Linked DNA regions of Homo sapiens: regions 1 and 2 are each linked to region 3. Evidence: promoter capture Hi-C in 16 types of primary human blood cells and fetal thymus (Javierre and others, 2016). All regions are on one chromosome and are shown on one strand. Each heading gives the region's core, a stretch centred on a gene start or on the middle of the fragment in contact. The rest is flanking DNA. Distances are from core to core; before and after follow the strand shown.

Region 1 (2,793 bases), core at 248-2,747, 350 kb before region 3:
TGCAAAGTCATCAGAAAGCAAAGCCACAGGTCCCGGGGCTGCTGTCCCCATTTGGGAGAAATGGCCCCTCTGGGACCCATCTTGGTTGCTCAGGTGGTATTCTCACTCTGCAGGTTCAACTACTGTTACCCGGCTTCCAATTCATGACAGGTAGGGCCCTGGCTCCAGCTGCCTGGCTGCCCATGCTCGACTTCACTCTTAGAATAAAAAGAGATTGGCGCAGCCAGTTCTTGCTGCAGTGTGGGGGCTCAGCTGGTGAGAGCGTGAAACCAGGAGGCAGGGTCACAGGTTTCAGCCCCATGTGTGCTTTGCCAAGGATTGCAGTGGGAGAATGTGGCTGGACAATAGAGATGTGCCTAGAAGCACAAGCCCACACAAAAGATCATTCTCGAACATCAAGCTGCAGGGCATTCTATGTGAACACTACCCACAAACATCTTACCATGCTCTCAGGAGTGAGCATTTTTTATTCAGCACTTCAACACCAGACACTAAAGCCACTCACGCACCAGGACGACAGGGCAGCTATGCTTCAGCATTTAGGGTCTGGAGTGACGAGGGGAGCAGGTAGAAGCTGACTCTGAGCATTTTCCTAACCTGTTTGCACAGATCTCCTACCCAACCATAAATCACTTTTACAGTCCTTCTCAAACCTCACATAAAATTTATGTTGCTTTTTGCCTGAAATTGACTAAGGAAAAAAAAACTTTAATTACAATAAGAGACACCTGGAGCAAAACACATGGAAAGCCCATTCGATACTCATTTACTCATTCGATCAATAAATATTTATCGAGCACCAGGAATGCACAAGGCACCAAAGGAGCTGTGGTGGAGACCATGGAGATGAAAGGGTGTTCTCCTGCCTTCAAGGAGTTTGCCCTGGCGGGGGTGTGGGAGTAACCAACAGACAGAGACAAAAGCTGCTATGAGATGAGCAGAGTGTGATTTATTTTAACAGAGGAGGAAACTATCAGGTAACTCAGAAGAGAAATGACTCATTTGGACTGGGAGGATCAGGGAAGTTTCCAGAAAGGAGGTGATATGTGATCTGGGTCTGAGGTAAAGGGTAGACTTTTCATCAGGTGAAGATGGCAGGAAAGGACATTTCAGGCACAAGGAACACCACCAAGAAAGCCAAGGGACAAAGAAAGTGCTGGTTGTCTACAGGAATACTGAGTGGCCAAGTGAACTCTAGAACAGGGGTGCAGTGTAGGGTTGGGAGGGAATGGAGGAAGATGATGAAGGAAAGGAGGGTGGGTATGGCTGGATCATGGAAGGGATACTGCACACTAAGGAGTTGGTATTTCATAAATAAGAGAAACCCTAAGAAATTCCTGGGCTGTCAACAACAGCCAGGTCTGTATTTTGGGAAGAAAAGCATGGGTTCAACATTTAGAATAGGCTCAAGAAGTGAGGGATGGGAGGCAGGTAGGAGGCTCTTGCCAGGCAAGAGGTTATGAAGGCTCGACGAGGGTAAGGGCAGAGGCAATGGAAACTTCCGGTTTCCATAGAATTATGTCCGTGTTATCTCAATATTGTAGCAGCACTATTCCTCAACCTGTTCCTTCTGCCTGGAAGGCCCTCCACCCATCCCTGTGGCTTACCCAAGCCCTGACTGGGCTTGGTGCTCCCAATGCAGCAGGGGCCTTCTTCCATCCTAGCACCTAGGACTATTGTTATTGATCATCTGGTTACTTGTCAGCCTCTACCATCAGACTGTGAAGTCCTGAAGGGTAGGACTTTGGTCTTTATCTCTGTTTTCCCAAGACCTGGTGCAGAAAGGTTTCTGTGATGGAAGGGAATATCCATACAATGCTCTCTGCACATACAACCTCTCTTTCTTCCATACCACATCCATAAGCACACTCCATTCTGGCATATATATGGGCTACTCCCATGTTCAACCTCTCTCTTACATCTCACGCCCTTTCTGACCCCCATTGCTCTACTTCCAATGTAAAGCATCCTTGACTAGCCTCTCTCAACCCCATTAAAATGTGATTAATTATTTTCGGCTCTCATGCAGATCTCCATATTGGATTATCTGGGCTGAAACACAATCTGTTTGCTGGTATCAAAATGCTGCTACTCACCCATGGGATTAACACTCTGACAAAATCATTAGAAACCTGATGAAGTATCGAGGCCTCCTGGGCTTGCTGAACACTCATTCCTCATCCCAGTGAATGCCTTCTTCCTGGGCCCACAGTTACACTCCCATCCATTTCCCTGCCTTCTTCATGGTGAGGCAGCCCAGACACTCAAGGGAATGCCTTAAACAGTGTTTGCTCCTAGTTGGCTGGGCCAGCTACCAAGACACCCAGCTAAGAGCTGCTCTTGTAATCCTGTGGTTTTTATGTGTTAATAGTAAGCATCTGACTTCCTCTTCGGGGTAGGGTGGGATAGTTTGTGGCCAATCAATGCTTCCACTAAGAACTAGAAATGCTAGAAGAAATATAACAATCATCTGTTTCAAGGCACCATTGACCTGCTGGAGCAAGAAGGATGGGAGAGGATACAGTTACTGAGGGGGGAAAGTGTGAAGAGGTGAGCTGATATTCTGTAATCACTTCCGGAGGGTATGTCATTTCTAGGCCCAGGATGAGAGGCTGAGAACCCAGGTTTGCAAGAAGCAAAGACTGCTGCTGGGGGACAAAGAAGCCAGCAGAGCTCTGGCAGCCTTGGGACTAGAGAGAGAAAATTAAGGACTTGAGGGTCCTCAAATATAGGGTCCCAATTTTCTCCTTAAGTCATTTACAGAATTCTGAAGCTGAATGGAGGAGAAGGCCA
Region 2 (2,700 bases), core at 116-2,615, 460 kb before region 3:
TGAATTATATACTTAAAGTGAATTACGTGGTATGCAAGTTATATCTCAAGAAAGCCATTACATTAAAAGAAATATTTATCTTTCAGAGGTTGAGAATTCAGAAAAGCAACACAGGGAATCAAGCCGAATACATTTCACTGACACGTGGCCCTTGAATGTCTGCGCGGACGCAGAGATCCAGGTTCTATGCTGTCTTTTCTGTGCATTGCTCCACACTCACTGTAATCCATCCCACAAACCCAAAATCAGGACACAGAATATTGCAAAGCATTTCTTCCTTGATTTGTGGATTTATTTACATGCATAACTTCATTGAATAATAAAAGTTAAATGTCATTTACTCAGGTTGGCCATGCATGGGGCGACAGAGGTACATCCCAAGTCCGAGGCAATCAAGTGGACTTCTGGGAATTAACTAGCAAAGTCCACGCATACCTGGGGTGATTAGCCACCCGCAGAAGTGACCAGAGCACCATAAATGTGACTGAAGAGCCTGGGAACATTTCAATCACCCCCACACCCCCACCTGCGGGAAGCACGACCAGAATGAGATGGCTACTGAGAAAGCAGAAACCGAGACAGTCATGCTGTGGCATAAGAGAATGACGACCTTGCAACTAGAAAGGAAGCAGGGCAGCCTAGAGGAATGCTTCTCAAATGGTCCTCCCTGGCAGGCCCCTGGGCTCCTCCAAGAAGTGGAGGGGAGGCTGCCTGGGGTCTCCAGCCCCATACCAGCTCCCACCATCACAATTCCACCTGCATCCATTTCAGGGGTTGGGGTTCCACCTAAGAGTTGATGTGGGAAAAAATGTTTTGCTATTAAAAATATAATAGGGGCCAGGCACGGTGACTCACACCTGTAATCCCAGCACTTTGGGAGGCTGAGGCAGATGAATCACCCGAGGTCGTGAGTTTGAGACCAACCTGACCAATATGGAGAAACCTCGTCTCTACTAAAAATACAAAAAAAAAAAAAAGCCAGGCATGGTGGCAGGCATTTGTAATCCCAGCTACTCGGGGTGCTGAGGCAGGAGAATTGCTTGAACCCGGGAGGTGGAGGTTGCAGTGAGCCGAGGTCATGCCATTGCACTCCAGCCTGGGCAACAAGAGCAAAACTCTGTCACAAAATAAATATATAAAATAGGAAAAAATTAGCCAAGCTGTACAACAAGGAAAAGAGACATCTAAAGTATCAGGAACTGGCAGTGCCATCCAGCATGAGTTGGACAGACACTGGATCCATGACACACAAGCTTTACATTAAGCTACAATGTCAGCATAACCACTTAGTGGACTCTATCTCACTTAATCTCTGCAACAAGTCCATGAGGTGGATATTTTATCTTCACTTGGACACGAGGAATTGGAGGTCAGAGAGGTCATGATCTGCCCGTTCTCACAGGTTTGAAGCATGACAGAGGAGGGAAGTGAGCCCAGGTCAGCCTGACTCCAGACCTTGCACCCTGACCAAGCTTGTCTTCCTTCTTATAAAAACTCAAGGATTTGCTGCGAAGCAGGGGGTGCGCTAGGGAGCGTGCATGAGGCTTCCAGGGACTGTAAAGGAAGCCTCCATCTACAGACTGTAAATGAACCCTAAAACACCAATAGCAACAGGCTTGCCCCTGGACCTCTGAAAACTCTCTCAGGTAACTCCCCCTCCTCCCTTCTCCCTGTCCTCCCTCCACCCCATTGAGATGGTGTTCAGACCATGGAGGCAGCTATCCTTCCCTTTGGGCCAAATGAGCTCACTGTTACCAATGTTTCCATCTATAACCTACTAACTATTTAACAATCACTTGTAGTAAGATAAATAAAGTAGTAAAATAATCTCTCAGAAAATGAGCATGTCCCCTGTGGGCCTGGGGACTGGGAATGTTTTGATGTAGTTGTTCATGTTTCAGAGTCACGCTGGGCCTGCCTCTGCCTCATCAGTGTTCAAAGGCCACAATTACGCCTGCACCACAGGAGGCAGCACACACCAAAGGGTCTGCTCCGGAGCCAGCAGTCCCACCTATCCCCATTTTGTTTTGGCAAAGTAAACATTCAAGAGTGTGCTGTGGACTTCAGCAGGTCCCACCAAATTCATATACTGAAGTTCTAACCCCCAATATTACTGCCTTAAAAAATAGGGTCTGTAGGACAAAACTAAGGTTAAATAAGGTCATTAGGATGGGACCTTGATCTGATAGGATCAGTGTCCTTATAAGAAGAGACACCAGTGCCTCACGCCTGTAATCCCAGAACTTTGGGAGGCCGAGGCGGGCGGATCACTTGATGTCAGGAGTTCAACACCAGCCTGGCCAACATGGTGAAATCCTGTCTCTACTAAAAATACAAAAAAATTACCCAGGAATGGTGGTGTGTGCGTGTAATCCCAGCTACTGGGGAGGATGAGGCACGAGAACCGCTTGAACCCAGGAGGCGGAGGTTGCAGTGAGCCAACAGGATCATGCCACCGCATTCCAGCCTGGTCGACAGAGTGAGATTGTCTCAAAAACAAAACAAAACACAACAAAAACAAAAACAAAACCTGGCATAGTGGCTCACACCTGTAATCCAGCACTTTGGGAGTCTGAGGCAGGTGGATTACCTGCGTGAGGTCAGGAGTTTGAGACCATCCTGGCTAAGGTGGTGAAACCCCATCTCTACTAAAAATACAAAAAATAGCCAGGTGTGGTGTCGGGCACCTGTAATCCCAGC
Region 3 (3,030 bases), core at 323-2,822:
ACAAATTCAGCTGCGCGCTTACACTATGCTTACGGCTTATATCTCTTAAACGCCAAGTGTTTCTGGAAGACGAAATATTTAAATACAAGAATTAAAAGCAAACCCCATGATTTACCCTCATTTCTTCAGCTCCTGGACATTGCTTCCAGCAAGAACCTGTGATTTACTGGTAATGTCAACATTCTGGAAAGTTATTAGATAATAATTAAACACCGTGCAGGTCAACATCTGAAAGAGATCAAGTTCCCAGATCACCATGCAGTAGGCTCAACATTAAGTTCACAGGTAGAAATTCCTAAAATGTAATTGTCTTGAGAATCTACTGCAGGACACGGCTAAAGCTGATAAATAATACACCAATACCGAGCCGACTTCAGGCACCGACCTTCACCTAAAATGACCTTCTCCTCTGATTTCCAGACGAGTACACAATCCTAATGCACACTACAGGCGGAAAACCACAATCATGGTTTTGCCTCCCCCTTCTCTGAGAATCGGAAGGGAAGTTTCTCTCCGGAAAAATTACATTTCCAAAAGCCAATCAACTGGATAACTCGGCAGCAACCCCAGGCTAACTGCACAGCTCCGAAACAACCCTCTTTCCTCTGCCTGTCAACTTCGCTGGCCAAAGGCAATCTGCAATCACCGACTCCCCTGCTAGGTCGGGCCCGATTCCGGGAGGCCGAACGAAGGAGGAATTCATACCAACCTGTCGGTGATAGTAGACTGTGTGCCACTCATTGGGGCCCTTGGCGAGAGGTCCTCCTTTTATCCAACTTGCATTTTACAGTAACACCTCCTCCCCACCCCCAGTGCTCTGGGATCAGGCCCAACTCCGTCAGGGACACAAAAGTCCAACTCAAAACTCCATTCAGTCATCTAGACCATCCGACTGTAAGGGGTCAACGGATGCGGCTTGGAGCAAAACAAGTTATCTCCCAAAACGAACTGAGAAAGCCAGGGAGCGAGTCAGTCCAGAGTGAGTCGAGCTAGAGAGAAATCCTCCAGAAGGCACAAGGATAAACTTCCTCAGAGAGGGAAATCCGCGCGCAGTGGGAAGGGGACCCGGGACTCCCGCCGGGGCTGGGGCGGGATCAGCTCACGGACGGGTGTCGGCTCCTCCTCCGGAGTCTCGGGGCCTCGAACTCCCCGCCGCGGCAAGGGCCGGGGCCCTCCCTCCCGGCTCTCTATCTGGGGCTGCCGGCTGCTCGTGGCCGCAGCGTTGGCCGCGTCTCCGGCCGTCCCGCGCCGGGCTCGCGCGATTCCATGTCCCGGGCCCGGGGCTCCTTCTGTGCTCGCCGCCCTCACCAGGCTCCCGGTGCTGGGACGAGCCGCTGGCGCCGGCGGAGAGGTCCCGCGGCCCGAGGTGACAGGGACCCGGGTCTCTCAGCGCCGCGGACTGCTCCCCATCCCTTTGAGGCCCGGACTCTTCCGCAATCGCCAGAGGCGGCGGCTCCTCCCCGACGCTCCCCGCGAGGGGCGGGAGATGCCCGTCCGGCCCGGCCTGGAAGCCCTGGTCCGGGAGGCGGAGGCGGCGGCGTCTCCCGGCGCAGGGCCGGCTCGCCGGGTTCTGGAGGCCCTCGCGGGCGCGCGCGCAGACAGCGGAGGAGGCCGGCGGCCGTGGGGGCCGCGCAACCGCGGGCGCGCGCGCGGGTTCCGGTTCCGGTTCTGGTTTCCCGGCCCTGGCCGCGTCCGGCGCGAGCTCGCGCTTCCCGTCCCCCGCCGACTTTATGGCCCCCTCCCCTCTGACTTCGGGAAGCCGCCTCACCCGGGATCCCTCCGCCGCTCAGGGCCGCGCTCTCGCCCTTGAACGGACGCCTCCGCCGGAGCCCGGTTTGGGAGAGCGGCAAAGTAGTCCTACGGGGCAGAGGGAGGTGGGACCCGTGCAGCCCCGGGAGGCCCACCCACCTCCCGCGGCGCCTGGGCCCCTGAGTGCCGAGACATGCCCCTTCGAGTCCAGTTTGTACTAAGTCGACTTTCACCAGAGACCGCCCGAGAGCGCCCCCCAGATCCCGAGGACATCGTGCCGGGAGGCTCTTTGAAAATTACCAGCCCCCCTTGTCCTGGAAACTTTTATTACTTAAGGGAATGTATTATCTCTCCTGTCTTCTGGCTGCACGCGTTCTGCCGGTTCCCGGCCGGCGCCCCTCGCTGCCTCCGCAGGCCCCGCTCACCTGGGCACCTGCCGGCTCCGGGGGGAGAGCGCTGCATGAGCCGGAGGCGCAGGGCTGCGGGAGAGCAGCTGGGGACTGCAGCCAGGGTTTCTCGGTATAAATATTACTTTTAGGCTGTTTCTGCCTTGGCAAAATGAAATGTGTTATTTGCCAAATTGATAAAGCATGGTGCTTTCCATGGCGACTTAACAAGCGTGTTGTGGAAAGAACTGGGAGAAGAAAATGAAGTATATTTATCCAGTAAATAGCATTACGGTTCTCTCTGAAGGATTCCCAAACGGTTTTTCGGTTTTTTCCCCTACTGGGTAGAGAGCTTTAGATACCCATCTAGTTTTATGATTGAATAATTCAGTATTTTGGCAATTTAGGTACCACATGTAATACAGTTCTTCAGTTCTGCCTGCAAACATCCAAAGTGGCTATTCCCTTTATCCAACTATTTTCAGACTTTTGAGCTTAAACCTATGTTGGTGACAAGGGATTTCAGCCATTTTGTGGAATCCAAGTAGCAAATCAAATCTAATAAACAGTGGATGTGGAGAGAGGAAACAATTACCTCTTAACAATGCTGTTGCAAAAAGTCATTCCGCAACAGTTCATGAAAGGATCATTATCCCCGAATAGAGGCATGAGCTCACGCTGACGTTAGTTAGAACGGGGGGGAAAAAAAGGAAAAGATAAACAGAGACCAGAGACGACTCTTTATTGCTCGATTTTTTAGGTTCAAGGCACAGCCAACTAATTTTGTAATGTTTATTTTTGGAAAGAATAGAAGCAGATTAGCCAAGGCACTTCCCTAATGATGAGACCAGGACACATTGCCACCTGCTGGTGTATTCTAGCATGACAATTCTAC

What was found. The method cuts DNA at HindIII sites, captures the fragments that hold promoters and counts their contacts. A CHiCAGO score of 5 or more calls a contact.
Region 1: a contact is called between a fragment that was not itself captured here and the fragment with the promoter of ARHGEF12 in region 3, in 6 of 17 cell types (total CD4 T cells, naive CD4 T cells, naive CD8 T cells and 3 more). The highest score is 13.5, in total CD4 T cells.
Region 2: a contact is called between a fragment that was not itself captured here and the fragment with the promoter of ARHGEF12 in region 3, in 2 of 17 cell types (total CD4 T cells and total CD8 T cells). The highest score is 6.2, in total CD4 T cells.

The regions. Positions count from the first base shown.
Region 1 is chr11:120,687,923-120,690,715 of GRCh38, reverse strand. The region is part of intron 3 of GRIK4 (glutamate ionotropic receptor kainate type subunit 4); the gene reads right to left. Among named protein-coding and RNA genes, the nearest start is that of GRIK4, 180 kb to the right of the region's middle. The HindIII fragment of the contact is 6,971 bases long and covers 1-2,793 here.
Region 2 is chr11:120,798,289-120,800,988 of GRCh38, reverse strand. The region is part of intron 3 of GRIK4 (glutamate ionotropic receptor kainate type subunit 4); the gene reads right to left. Among named protein-coding and RNA genes, the nearest start is that of TBCEL, 220 kb to the left of the region's middle. RefSeq lists an enhancer at 1,585-2,259. The HindIII fragment of the contact is 219 bases long and covers 1,256-1,474 here.
Region 3 is chr11:120,334,955-120,337,984 of GRCh38, reverse strand. ARHGEF12 (Rho guanine nucleotide exchange factor 12) reads right to left here and starts at 1,572. Exons shown (of 41, transcript NM_015313.3): 1 at 710-1,572. The coding sequence starts at 741. RefSeq lists a silencer at 1,116-1,985. The HindIII fragment of the contact is 6,393 bases long and covers 1-3,030 here.